4 separate regions of the Homo sapiens genome follow, and all the other regions are linked to region 4. Evidence: promoter capture Hi-C in 16 types of primary human blood cells and fetal thymus (Javierre and others, 2016). All regions are on one chromosome and are shown on one strand. The core of a region is centred on a gene start or on the middle of the fragment in contact, and the rest is flanking DNA. Distances in the headings are between cores, read along the strand shown.

The links. Contacts are between HindIII fragments. The CHiCAGO score rates a contact against its expected background, and 5 or more counts as called.
Region 1: a fragment that was not itself captured here is called in contact with the fragment with the promoter of SLC25A38 in region 4 in 3 of 17 cell types (naive CD8 T cells, total CD8 T cells and activated CD4 T cells); the score reaches 7.5 in naive CD8 T cells.
Region 2: a contact is called between a fragment that was not itself captured here and the fragment with the promoter of SLC25A38 in region 4, in 6 of 17 cell types (total B cells, fetal thymus, total CD4 T cells and 3 more). The highest score is 6.7, in total B cells.
Region 3: a contact is called between a fragment that was not itself captured here and the fragment with the promoter of SLC25A38 in region 4, in 2 of 17 cell types (activated CD4 T cells and total CD8 T cells). The highest score is 9.0, in activated CD4 T cells.

The regions. Positions count from the first base shown.
Region 1 is chr3:39,080,939-39,083,638 of GRCh38, forward strand. The region is part of intron 11 of WDR48 (WD repeat domain 48); the gene reads left to right. Among named protein-coding and RNA genes, the nearest start is that of GORASP1, 25 kb to the right of the region's middle. The HindIII fragment of the contact is 1,597 bases long and covers 520-2,116 here.
Region 2 is chr3:39,059,721-39,062,420 of GRCh38, forward strand. All of the region lies in intron 1 of WDR48 (WD repeat domain 48), which reads left to right. Among named protein-coding and RNA genes, the nearest start is that of WDR48, 9.1 kb to the left of the region's middle. The HindIII fragment of the contact is 9,058 bases long and covers 1-2,700 here.
Region 3 is chr3:39,120,139-39,122,838 of GRCh38, forward strand. TTC21A (tetratricopeptide repeat domain 21A) reads left to right here. Exons shown (of 29, transcript NM_001366900.1): 9 at 859-1,051. Among named protein-coding and RNA genes, the nearest start is that of TTC21A, 14 kb to the left of the region's middle. The HindIII fragment of the contact is 4,421 bases long and covers 1-2,700 here.
Region 4 is chr3:39,382,105-39,384,804 of GRCh38, forward strand. SLC25A38 (solute carrier family 25 member 38) reads left to right here and starts at 1,266. Exons shown (of 7, transcript NM_017875.4): 1 at 1,266-1,689. The coding sequence starts at 1,621. It overlaps LOC105377644 (a long non-coding RNA gene), which reads right to left and starts at 2,221. Exons shown (of 3, transcript XR_007096252.1): 1 at 2,137-2,221; 2 at 849-940. RefSeq lists enhancers at 1,575-1,754, 1,775-1,874, 1,885-1,934, 2,405-2,474 and a silencer at 2,165-2,314. The HindIII fragment of the contact is 12,754 bases long and covers 376-2,700 here.

The DNA of each region.
Region 1 (2,700 bases), core at 68-2,567, 300 kb before region 4:
TTTAGGTCATTTCCCAAAGAGCCTTAAGCTGCAGGACCCAAAGTTGGCCTTTCTTTTGTACTCCTAGAAGAACCTTAGATAATTTTAGAGCAGGAAAATCTCATGTTGAGGGCAGTAGTTGTTAGTGTATGTAATGGGAAACTGAAAGCTGGAAGACGTCATGATTGGAGATCTAAAGGAAGAGACATGAGCACCATAGGAAAGGTTAAATAAATAAATAAAAATAAAGGACGAGACAGGTGTTGAGCTTATTATAAAGGAAGAATTGAAAACAGCTGGTATTTTGGTTAAGCTCCTGGTTATAAAGAAAAGAGATTCACTTAATGAACTAAAGAATAAGACAGGCAAGTTTCTTGCTAGGAAAAAGGGACTGTCACTGAACAGAAACCTTGGCTTGACTACCATTTTTGCTCCCTGTGGGACATCTATGTGGGAAGTCCATTATGAAACAGTTGTTTGGTGAGCATTGCTTCAGAATGAGAGGCTTTAGTTCTTTGAGTAGAAAGTTTAGTTGCGGCAAGCTTCAAAAATCTGATTAGTTTTTCTCTACAATAGAGAGATGCCTGTTGGGGGTGGGGGTAGAAACACATTGATTTCAGAGAGGGTTCTCTTGGGGACTGGCAGGATCCAGAACAGCCCTAAGAAACTCATCAGCAGAAATTATTGATTCTTCACTTTGATACTCTACCACAAATGTGTCCCTAACTCTGTCCTGTGGCTGGACTTCGCCTCATGCTGCCCAGGACCTAATTGTCTCCAGAATACCCAAGAGAATCTGATCAGGCCAGCTCCTCTTTGAGAGTTGACCTATCTGTTTTCTGTATATGGGTCTGTTGCCCACTCTTGGTCTGGTTAACTGAGGCCTGAGTAGAATCCTGCTGTCTGAATGGGAGGTACTTCTACTTAGATGGGGCCAGCATACATCATGATTGGCATTTCTGTGTACCTAGCAGCTTCCCATATCTAGACCTTGAAGTTTTGATATCAAATGATCTGGTGTAATAGACGTGGCTAAACAGTGTGGGACAGTCAGGAGTTTTTTAGGAACATTGGCTTGGGAGTTGGACAGAGCTGCATTCTAACCTTGGCTGTGCCAAATACTCGCCAAGTGATCTACGGAATATGCTAGGGAACATCTCTAAAATGGTTTCTTCATTCCTAAAATGTCGGGGGTGCCTATTATTGGTGATGTTGAGAAGCACAGTGTCTGGTACATAATAGGAGGCTGTTGCACTAATACAGGTGAAAGGTGATATTTGTCTAGACTAGGGTGGGAACAAGGGGGATGGAAAAAATCGAATGATTAGGAAAATATTTAGGCCTGTGAACAAGAGTGATACTTTTTTTTTTCTTTTTTTTTTGATACGGAGTCTCATTCTGTTGCCCCGGCTGGAGTGCAGTGGCGCAACCTCAGCTCACTGCAACCTCTGACTCCCTGGTTCAAGCGATTCTCCTGCCTCAGCCTCCCGAGTAGCTGGGATTACAGGCATGCACCACCACATCGGGCTAATTTTTGTATTTTTAGTAGAGACAGCGTTTCTCCTTGTTGGCCAGGATGGTCTCGATCTCCTGGCCTCATGATCTGCCCGTCTTGGCCTCCCACAGTGCTGAGATTACAGGCATGAGCAACCGTGCCTGCCCACAGGAGTGATACTTTAATGAAAGGAGTATGAGGAAAGGAAAAAGCAAGAATGAGTCCCAGATTTCTTGATTGTCCAGTTTGGTGAATGGAAGTGATGTAGGGAATGTAAGATGAAAAACAGGTTATCAGGAGAAAAGGACATGCTGAGAAAGATGTTGAATTTGAGTTTCTGTGGGATATCTGAATAGAGGTGTTTGGTGGGCAGACAGCTGTACAGTCTCATGCACAGTTAAAGAACTGGGCTGGAGAAAAAGGCTCAGCAGTCATCAGCTTGTGGGTTACAGTTTGATGTCATAGGAAATGTCAGAGTTTCCAAGGGACATATGTAGACTGAGAAGAAACTAAGTCATCAGTCTTTCAGGGATGTTGGGAAAAGAGGAAGCCACAATAGTATATGATTTTAAAAAGTTGCGGGGGAGTAAGAAAATGAAGAGCCAGTGGCAGCTCCAGAACTAATTGAGTGTTTCAAGAAGAAGCTTGCGGTTAGTGGCATTAACCTGCTGTGAGTTGATTTAAGATGTGACTAACATCATGGATTTAAATAAAGAGGGTGGCCTCTGGGTAGAGTCTTAAGGGCAAAAGCCAGGTAGAGTGAGTTGAGTAGTGATTTGAAGGTGAAGAAACAGAAAATTTGACTGGATAATCTTTGAAGAAATTTGATTGGAGGGGTAGGCAGGAAGCGGCGGAAACTAGAGAAGATGTAGGAGTCAGAGGGCCAAAGGAAGCTTTTGATTTTGTTTGGTTTTGTTTGGATATTTGGGTATTTTTCAGATGTAAGAAATTTGAGCATATTTCATTGCTCCTGGGAAGAAGCCAGTAGAGACATTCATGGGTAGATGACAATACAAGGTCATCCCAAGAAGCAAGAGGTGAGGGGGACCGGAGCACAGTCAGAAGGGACACCGTTTTCCTTGCACCAGGGAGAATGATAGAGAAAGTTAAGGGGATTCTGTCAAGGCTTCTCTTTGTTTTGAGAAAAAGGAATCAGAGTCATGTGCTGAGGATAATGGGGAAGGTGGCAAGGTCAGAGGTAGAAGAGAGATTTAGTTGAGATGGAC
Region 2 (2,700 bases), core at 96-2,595, 320 kb before region 4:
GGACAAATTTCTGGAAATTGAATTTTAAAGAACATTTCAAAGAGTTTAAAACTTTTGTCAGAAAGTGTTTATTTATCCTCAGGGGAAACAAAAATGGCAGTTATTTTAAAAAATTCTTGTATTATAGGTAAAATAATCTCATATTAATTTTGTCTTTGATTATTTATGGGGTTTTTGGCCATTTCTTTTTTAAAAAGTCCCTTTTTGTAACTGTCCCTCTTTCTGTTGGTAAATTTGACTTTTTCTTATTTTATAAGGAATCTTGTTAAGAGTAAACTTTCTTTCATATTTATTTCATTATTCTCTTAGTCTTGCTCGTGTTACTTTTTGACATTCAGAAGGTTTAAGAAAATAATAACATTGTGATAAAATTCACATACCATAAAGTGCACCCTTTCAAAGTGTACAATTCAGTGATTTTTTTGTATATTCGGAAAGTTGTTTATTGGTCACCTAACTCCAGAATGTTTAATTACTCTATGTTCATTAGCAATTACTCCCCGTTTTTCATTTTTCCCTCCTTCAATCTCCTGGCAATTACTAATCTACTTTCTGTGTGGATTTGTCTATCCTAGACATTATATATAAATAGAGTCATAAAATATGTGGCCTTTTGTAAAATATGTGGCTTCTTTCACTTAGCACATTTTCAAGGTTCATCCACGTTATAGCATGTGTCAGTACAGTGTGTGTGTGTGCATATATATATATATATATGCACACACACACATCACATTTTATTTGTTTTGTCCATTGATGGATATTTGGGTTGTTTCCACTTTTGTAACATTATTGTGAATGCCACAATGCTGTGAACATTCTTGTACATAGAAAAGGTTTTGACTTGTATTTGGCCAGATCACCATTGCTCTTTTCCTTCGTAAAGATTACCATCTTTCTTGGCATGTTGGAAGAGTTTTCTCTGGCAAGGGACTATGTAAATATTCACCTGTCTTTTAAAAATTATTTTTATGCTGGCCAGGTGCAGTGGCTCACGCCTGTAATCCCAGCACTTTGGGAGGCTGAGGCGGGTGGACCACTTGAAACCCAGCCTGGCCAACATGGTGAAACCACCATCTCTACTAAAAATGCAAAAATCAGCTGGGCACAGTGGCATATGCCTGTAATCCCAGCTACTCAGGAGGCTGAGGCACGAGAATTGCTTGAACCTGGGAGGTAGAGGATGTAGTAAGCCAAGATCGGGCCACTGCTTTCCAGCCTGGGTGACAGAGCAAGATTCTCTCAAAAAATAAAAACAAAAATTATTTTTATGGTTATTAAATTTCAGTCTTTAATTCATAGAAAAATTCGTTTTTGGTTTAAGATGTGGAGAAAGGGTATAATTGTTCCTAATAGAATCACTATAGGTACTTGAGATAATTTTTTTTAATTATTATACTTCAAGTTCTAGGGTACATGTGCACAACGTGCAGGTTTGTTACATAAGTATACATGTGCCATGTTGGTTTGTTGCACCCATCAACTTGTTATTTACATTAGGTATTTCTCCTAATGCTATCCCTCCCCCAGCCCCCTACCCCCCAACATGCCCCAGTGTGTGATGTTCCCTGCCCTGTGTCCATGTGTTCTCATTGTTCAGCTCCCACTTACGAGTGAGAACATGTGGTGTTTGGTTTTCTGTCCTTGTGATAGTTTGCTGAGAATGATGGTTTCTGGCTTCATCCATGTCCCTGCAAAGGACATGAACTCATCCTTTTTTATGGCTGCATAGTATTCCATGGTGTATATGTGCCACATTTTCTTAATTCAGTCTATCATTGATGGACATTTGGGTTGGTTCCAAGTCTTTGCTATTGTGAATAGTGCTGCAATAAACATACGTGGGCATGTTTCTTTATAGTAGAATGATTTATAATCCTTTGGGTATATACTCAGTAATGGGATGGCCGGGTCAAATGGTATTTCTAGTTGTAGATTCTTGAGGAATCGCCACACTGTCTTCCACAGTGGTTGAACTACTTTACACTCCCACCAACAGTGTAAAAGCATTCCTATTTCTCCACATCCTCTCCAGCATCTGTTGTTTCCTGACTTTTTAATGACTGCCACTCTAACTGGCATGAGATGGTATCTCATTGTGGTTTTGATTTGCATTTCTCTGATGGCCAGTGATGATGAGCATTTTTTCTTGTGTCTGCTGCAGAAATGTCTTCTTTTGAGAAGTGTCTGTTCATATCCTTTGCCCACTTTTTGATGGGGTTGTTTTTGTTGTTGTTGTTGTTGTACATTTGTTTAAGTTCTTTGTAGATTCTGTATATTAGCCCTTTGTCAGATGGGTAGATTGCAAAAATTTTCTCCCATTCTGTAGGTTGCCTGTTCACTCTGATGATAGTTTCTTTTGCTGTGCATAAGCTCTTTAGTTTAATTAGATCTCATTTGTCAATTTTGGCTTTTGTTGCCATTGCTTTTGGTGTTTTAGTCATGAAGTCTTTGCCCATGCCTGTGTCCTGAATTGTATTGCCTAGGTTTTCTTCTAGGGTTTTTATGGTTTTAAGTCTTAACATTTAAGTCTTTAGTCCATCTTGAGTTAATTTTTAACTGTTTATTTCATTACATTAGAAAGTTTTACTTCTGGCTGCCAGCCAGCTTATTGACTTTTTCTTAGGTGTAATTGTTTTCAGTTGATCCCCTGTTTTCACAAGGAACAGACAGAGGTCACCAACAGTAACAAAGTAGGGG
Region 3 (2,700 bases), core at 134-2,633, 260 kb before region 4:
TCCTTTAGGGTAGTGGCTCATATCCTGCTGTGCCTACTTGCCTCTGGCTGATAACTGTGACATGTGGGTTCTACATCCTTAGCCTAGGTGCCCCCTCAGAGATGCCATGAAGATCAGGGAGACGGGGTCTGAAAGTGCTTTTGGAGTGGGCTGTGCCTTATTTGGGGAAAGCGGGTGGTATTGCAGCTGTTATGCAGCAGAGCCACACCCAGCTCTAGCCTCTAGTGCCTGGGTGCCCATCTCCCATATTCTTTTTTGTGGAGGTGACCTGAGAAGGCTGGCCTGCCTAGGCCTCTCAAACATCAGGGAAGGTTCAACTAGACCAGGTTGCCAACAAATCTGTATCTCTTTCAGACCCTTCAGCCCCAAAGCAAGATTTACTAGAAGTAGTTGCTGTAAGAATGAAGGCAACTCTGGGACCCCAGGAACCAGAACTGTGGAGTTGCATAGGCACCATCTCTCCCTCTGTATGTCTGATTCTCTCTGCCTTGTTCTCCACACATGGCAGGGAACATGGCTGATGGCAGCCTTTGGGGCCACTTCTTATTACTGGACACATTCAGCTTCAATTTTTGAAAAACCTCTTGGTGACTCCTTAGACCAATTACTGTGACCAGACAGGGGATAGGTCCCTCAGAGGACCCTGTGGCTAGAGGCAGGTTCCACAGTTGTGGCCAGTGAGAGGTTCCTTGGGAGCCAGACAGCAACACAGACCCAGCTGCCTAGACACACGGTACCTCTTGGCTCTCCTGGGCCTACCAGCCCTGCCTACCAAAGTGTCCCCCGTTTCTGACATGACCTTGCTCATACAGGCTGGACTGACTGGTTTCCCAATTCCCACCTTCCTGTTTCTTGCAGTGTGGGAGTCACCAGGTGATTCTAGGGCTAGTGTGTAGTTTCATCGAGCGCACCTTCATGGCCACCCCCTCGTATGTCCATGTGGCCACAGAACTGGGCTATCTCTTCATCCTGAAGAACCAAGTGAAAGAGGCCTTGCTGTGGTATTCAGAAGCCATGAAACTGGACAAGGATGGCATGGCTGGTTTGACAGGTATATGCAGGTGTGGCAGGGCTCAGGGATGGGTGTCGGGAGCCAAACCGGGCAGCTTCCATGGGTCCAGAAGAGAGGTGCTGGAAAGCATTCTCCTTGAAGGGTATGTGAATTTTGGGGTACAATGTATGATGGGGTATCTTTCTGGGAATCCACAAGTATAGATGTAAGAGGCACAGCAATGCTCAGAGGTATGATCAGAGTCACTCTGATCTCCACCAGACCTCCAATGTCTGTCTACACTGACTGCCCCAGAAGACTGACAGGCTGAACCTTATACTCAGTGGGCCCTGCCTCTTCTCAGGCTGCCCAGGCCGGGGTTGGAGGCAGTTCTACTCACCACCAGTCCCCACATGCAGAGCCTCTAGATTCACCTCTGTAGACCCTCCTTCAGGGCTCTGAGCTGAAAAACCACCAAAAAGAGTAGCTCTGAGAATTATATATTTCCCTGTCTGTCCAGGTGACTTTAAAAATCTTTTCTATAAATGCCAAATGAACTTTCTACAGTGCCATTTCCATTTTACGCATTTTTTAAAGCCCCCTATTCCATGGTCTGTGGTGAACTCTGAAGTGGCAGTATTTGGTTTGGGTTGAGGAAGTTGTGTGGTCCAGTGCTCAAGGCAGGCCGACTCTTGCCCTGGCTCTGAGGGGCTATGTGTTTGGGGCCAAGTCACTTCTCCTTTCTAAACTCCAGGCTCCTCATCTGCATAGCACATTTATCAGAGTAGTTTATCTTGACTTCTGGTTCAACATGTCAGGCTGACCCCCTCAAATCCATGCTTTCCCTCTGTCCCCAAATCCCATGAAAATAATGAAAGATATCTTTAAAAGGTAATGAGCCAGGCGTGATGGCTCACGCCTGTAATCCCAATACTTTGGGAGGCTGAGGTGGGCAGGTCATTTGAGGTCAGGAATTCGAGACCAGCCTGGCCAACATGATGAAACCCCATCTCTACTAAAAACACACAAAAATTAGCCAGGTGTGGTGGAGGACACCTGTAATCCCAGCTATTTGGGACGCTGAGGCCGGAGAATCACTTGAACCCGGGAGATGGAGGTTGATATGAGCCGAGATGACACCACTGCACTGCAGCCTGGGCCACAGAGTGAGACTCCACCTCAAAAAAAGAAAGAAAAAAAAAAAAAAGAGTACATAGCAGCGTGGACCAGAAACTTTGAAGAATTTCACATTTCTAGAAGATGGAAGGCAAATGGTGTCAAATACATGGGAATTCGAAGCAGATCTAGAAACCCATAAGCAAACATAGGCAGAGATGGGTTAGCTAAAGAATTTAGTAGACCAGCTTTCCCCAAAGAGTTCCAGGAAAAACAAAAACTAAAAAAGACGAGCTCAGGGTCACCAGAGGCTGAGTGTGAAAGCATGCCACGGGGCAGTGAGAGCGATAATAGGAGGATTACTGGAATCATGCCTTGGCCAGAGGCTAGAATCCAGGAGGTGTGTATTGGGTGTTGGGGCAGGAGGGAGAGGAGCACTGCTCTGGATGATTTCCCACCATAACCAGGGACATGAAGGACAAAAGGACTTGGCTGCTCAGCACAAAAGCAAAATTCCCTAGAATGTTCTTCCACCAGGTTGAGTCCTTCCCTACTTCCTCCTTCAAGGGGCAGAGTCCCAGTGGTTAGCCAGA
Region 4 (2,700 bases), core at 16-2,515:
AGCTGGGACTACAGGCGCCTGCCACCACACCCGGCTATATTTTTAGCAGAGACGGGATTTCACCATGTTAGCCAGGATGGTCTCGATCTCCTGACCTCGTGATCGGCTCGCCTCGGCCTCCCAAAGTGCTGGGATTACAGGCGTGAGCCACCGCACCCGGCCTGTAATTTTTTTTTTTTTTTTAATGTTTATACTTTCCTTAATCCTTTCTGGGAATAACCTCCTCTGGGACCACTTTCCTTCCTGTTCTATGTACCTCAGAAGCACAGGAATGAAGCCTGAAAAAATATTATCTTGCTCCCTAAGTCACTTTCCTTTCTGATCTAGTTCTTGGGTGATGAATGAAGGTGGAAAGTAGCGAAGGTTGCTATGAAAAGCTTGGACTTTATTACCAGGGCCACTGCATTTTCAACAGGAGTGTCAGGATCCCAGCAGTAATGCTTTTCCATGGATCAGCCAGACAGGCATAAGGGGAAGTTGGGAGACCAAAAAAGCCATTGACAGATTCCAGGTGAGCAATAAACCAGAATTTTGACCAACTAGACCAGCGCTGTCCTACAGAAATGTAATGGGAGCCACATGTTAAAGTTTAAATGTTTTACTAGCCACATTTAAAAAGAAACACATGAAGTTATTATTATTTGTTTTAGAGACGGGGTCTTGCTTTGTCGTCCACGCTGGTCTCCAACTCCTTGGCTCCCTCAAGCAATCCTCCAGACTAGGCCTCACAAAGTGCTGAGATTACAGGCCTGGGCCACTGCCCCCGGCCTGAAGTTAATTTTAATATTTCACCTAACCCAATATATCCAAAATATCATTTCAACATATAAAAATTATTGAGATTTTACCTCACCAGTCTTAGACATCCAGCGTGTGGTTTATGCATACAGTACATATCAATTCCACACTAAATTTTCAGCATTTAAAGGGAAATATGGTCCTGAAAAAAAAACAACAAAACAAAAAAACGCCTGTTTAAGGAGAAAGCATTCCACACTGCTTGTTTTAATATAATTAAAATTAATGTATCAATTAATAAATCAATAGCCCACGTTGGCTAGTGGCTGCCTTACTGGGCAGACCAGGTCTGGATTGTAAATACGTTCAGACGTTCCACGCAAAAGCAAAGTTCCCTGCAGACGCTCCATTAAGTTCTGGGTGCAAGGAAGCGCGGATCCTTCAGTTCTGGGCGTTTTCACCAGGTGGCACTCAGAACACCCTCACGTGACAAGCGTCCCACCCGGAAGCGAAATCTCCCCTTCTACAGAGTTCCTCCGGCGCTTCCTCCACCCCGGGATACACAGAACCTCATCTCCTACGGTGCTGAAGCCTGCAGCAGGGCAGGATGGGCAGGAGAGCAGAGCCGCGGAGTCTGCGGCGCGGGTGAAGAGCGGCGCGTAATTCCCGCAGCAAGATTGTTCCGCGCCCGCAGCCCCTGGACTAGCAGGATCCGAACCCCGGCGGCTGCGTGCTTATAGGCGCAGACGTCAGAGAGCCCGCGGCTTAAAGCGCGTCGCCTGGCTAGCGCCACCCCCTAGCCTTCTTCAAGGCCTCCAGGGCTGGGCCCAAGCGCCCGTCGACGGCACCCTGGGCCCAGAGGACTCGCGGGCCTCATCTCCAATGATTCAGAACTCACGTCCGTCGCTGCTGCAACCCCAAGATGTCGGAGACACGGTGGAAACGCTTATGGTGAGGGCACTGCGGGGAAGGAAGGGCAGGGGTCCGAACCGCGGGCTCGGGCCGGAGAATTCGGGGCGTTGCTAAGGCTCGGCTACCCTTTTCCGCGCCCCAGGGTGCGCTCAGGATTTAGGATGCGGCGGGAGAGGAGTCTGACTAAGGGAATTGAGAAGGGGGCAGGGAGTGAGGAGAGGCCAGGAGCTGCAGGCCAGCCCTGGGGGCAGGCGCTGTAGGGCCGATGTCCCGGTAAAGGGCGGAATTGCCGGGGCCTGGACTGGACGCGTGCCGGGGAGTGTGCCCGCGCGGCCCCCACAAGGTGCGAGTAGGCTGCCAGGTGGAAGGGCACCCGGGCAGATTTGGGACGGTCACAAGGCCTGATAATAGCGCTGACGCTGAGAAGCCGTTGATGCCGCAGCGAGCTGGCCGGGTAGCGCTGTGCGCCCGCGGGCGGCGGCCTACCTGGAGGGGCCAGTCGTGGCGGCACCCTTCCAGCCTGTTGGGACGGCGCGTGGTCCCCCAGCGACGCCACGCCTCCTCCGGCGTTCGATTGGTCATCGTGCCCGGGCCGCCGGGCCGCTATTGGTGGAGGCGGAGGCGGGGCTGGCGGCGTGGTTGCCCGGTAGGTGGAGTCGGGGTGCAACCAGTCTTTAGACGCTAAAGGCCTGAGGCCACTGCAGCTGCCGCAGCTCTCCCTCTGAGGTCTTGCGCCCGAGGTAGGGGCGGCTTTTATTTTTTTTTTTAATCCTTAAAGGCGGAGACGGCGGCGGTGGCGACTTTACGTTGACGTCTTTGAAAACCTGCTTACCTTTTTCAGGGCTCTCCAGCCCTCGCCTCCAGATGTGAATTGGACTTAGGATAGTTTTTTCAGGGCAGTAGGAATTGCTTGTGGATCCAGTTTGTACTCTTATGTGCTACTTATTTCGTGTGCGTATTATTGTTTATGCCCTCTTCTTTCTCCCCTTAAAAAGAAACTACTTTTTTATTTACCTTGAATATATTTTTGAGCTTTCTTTTCTTTTTTCT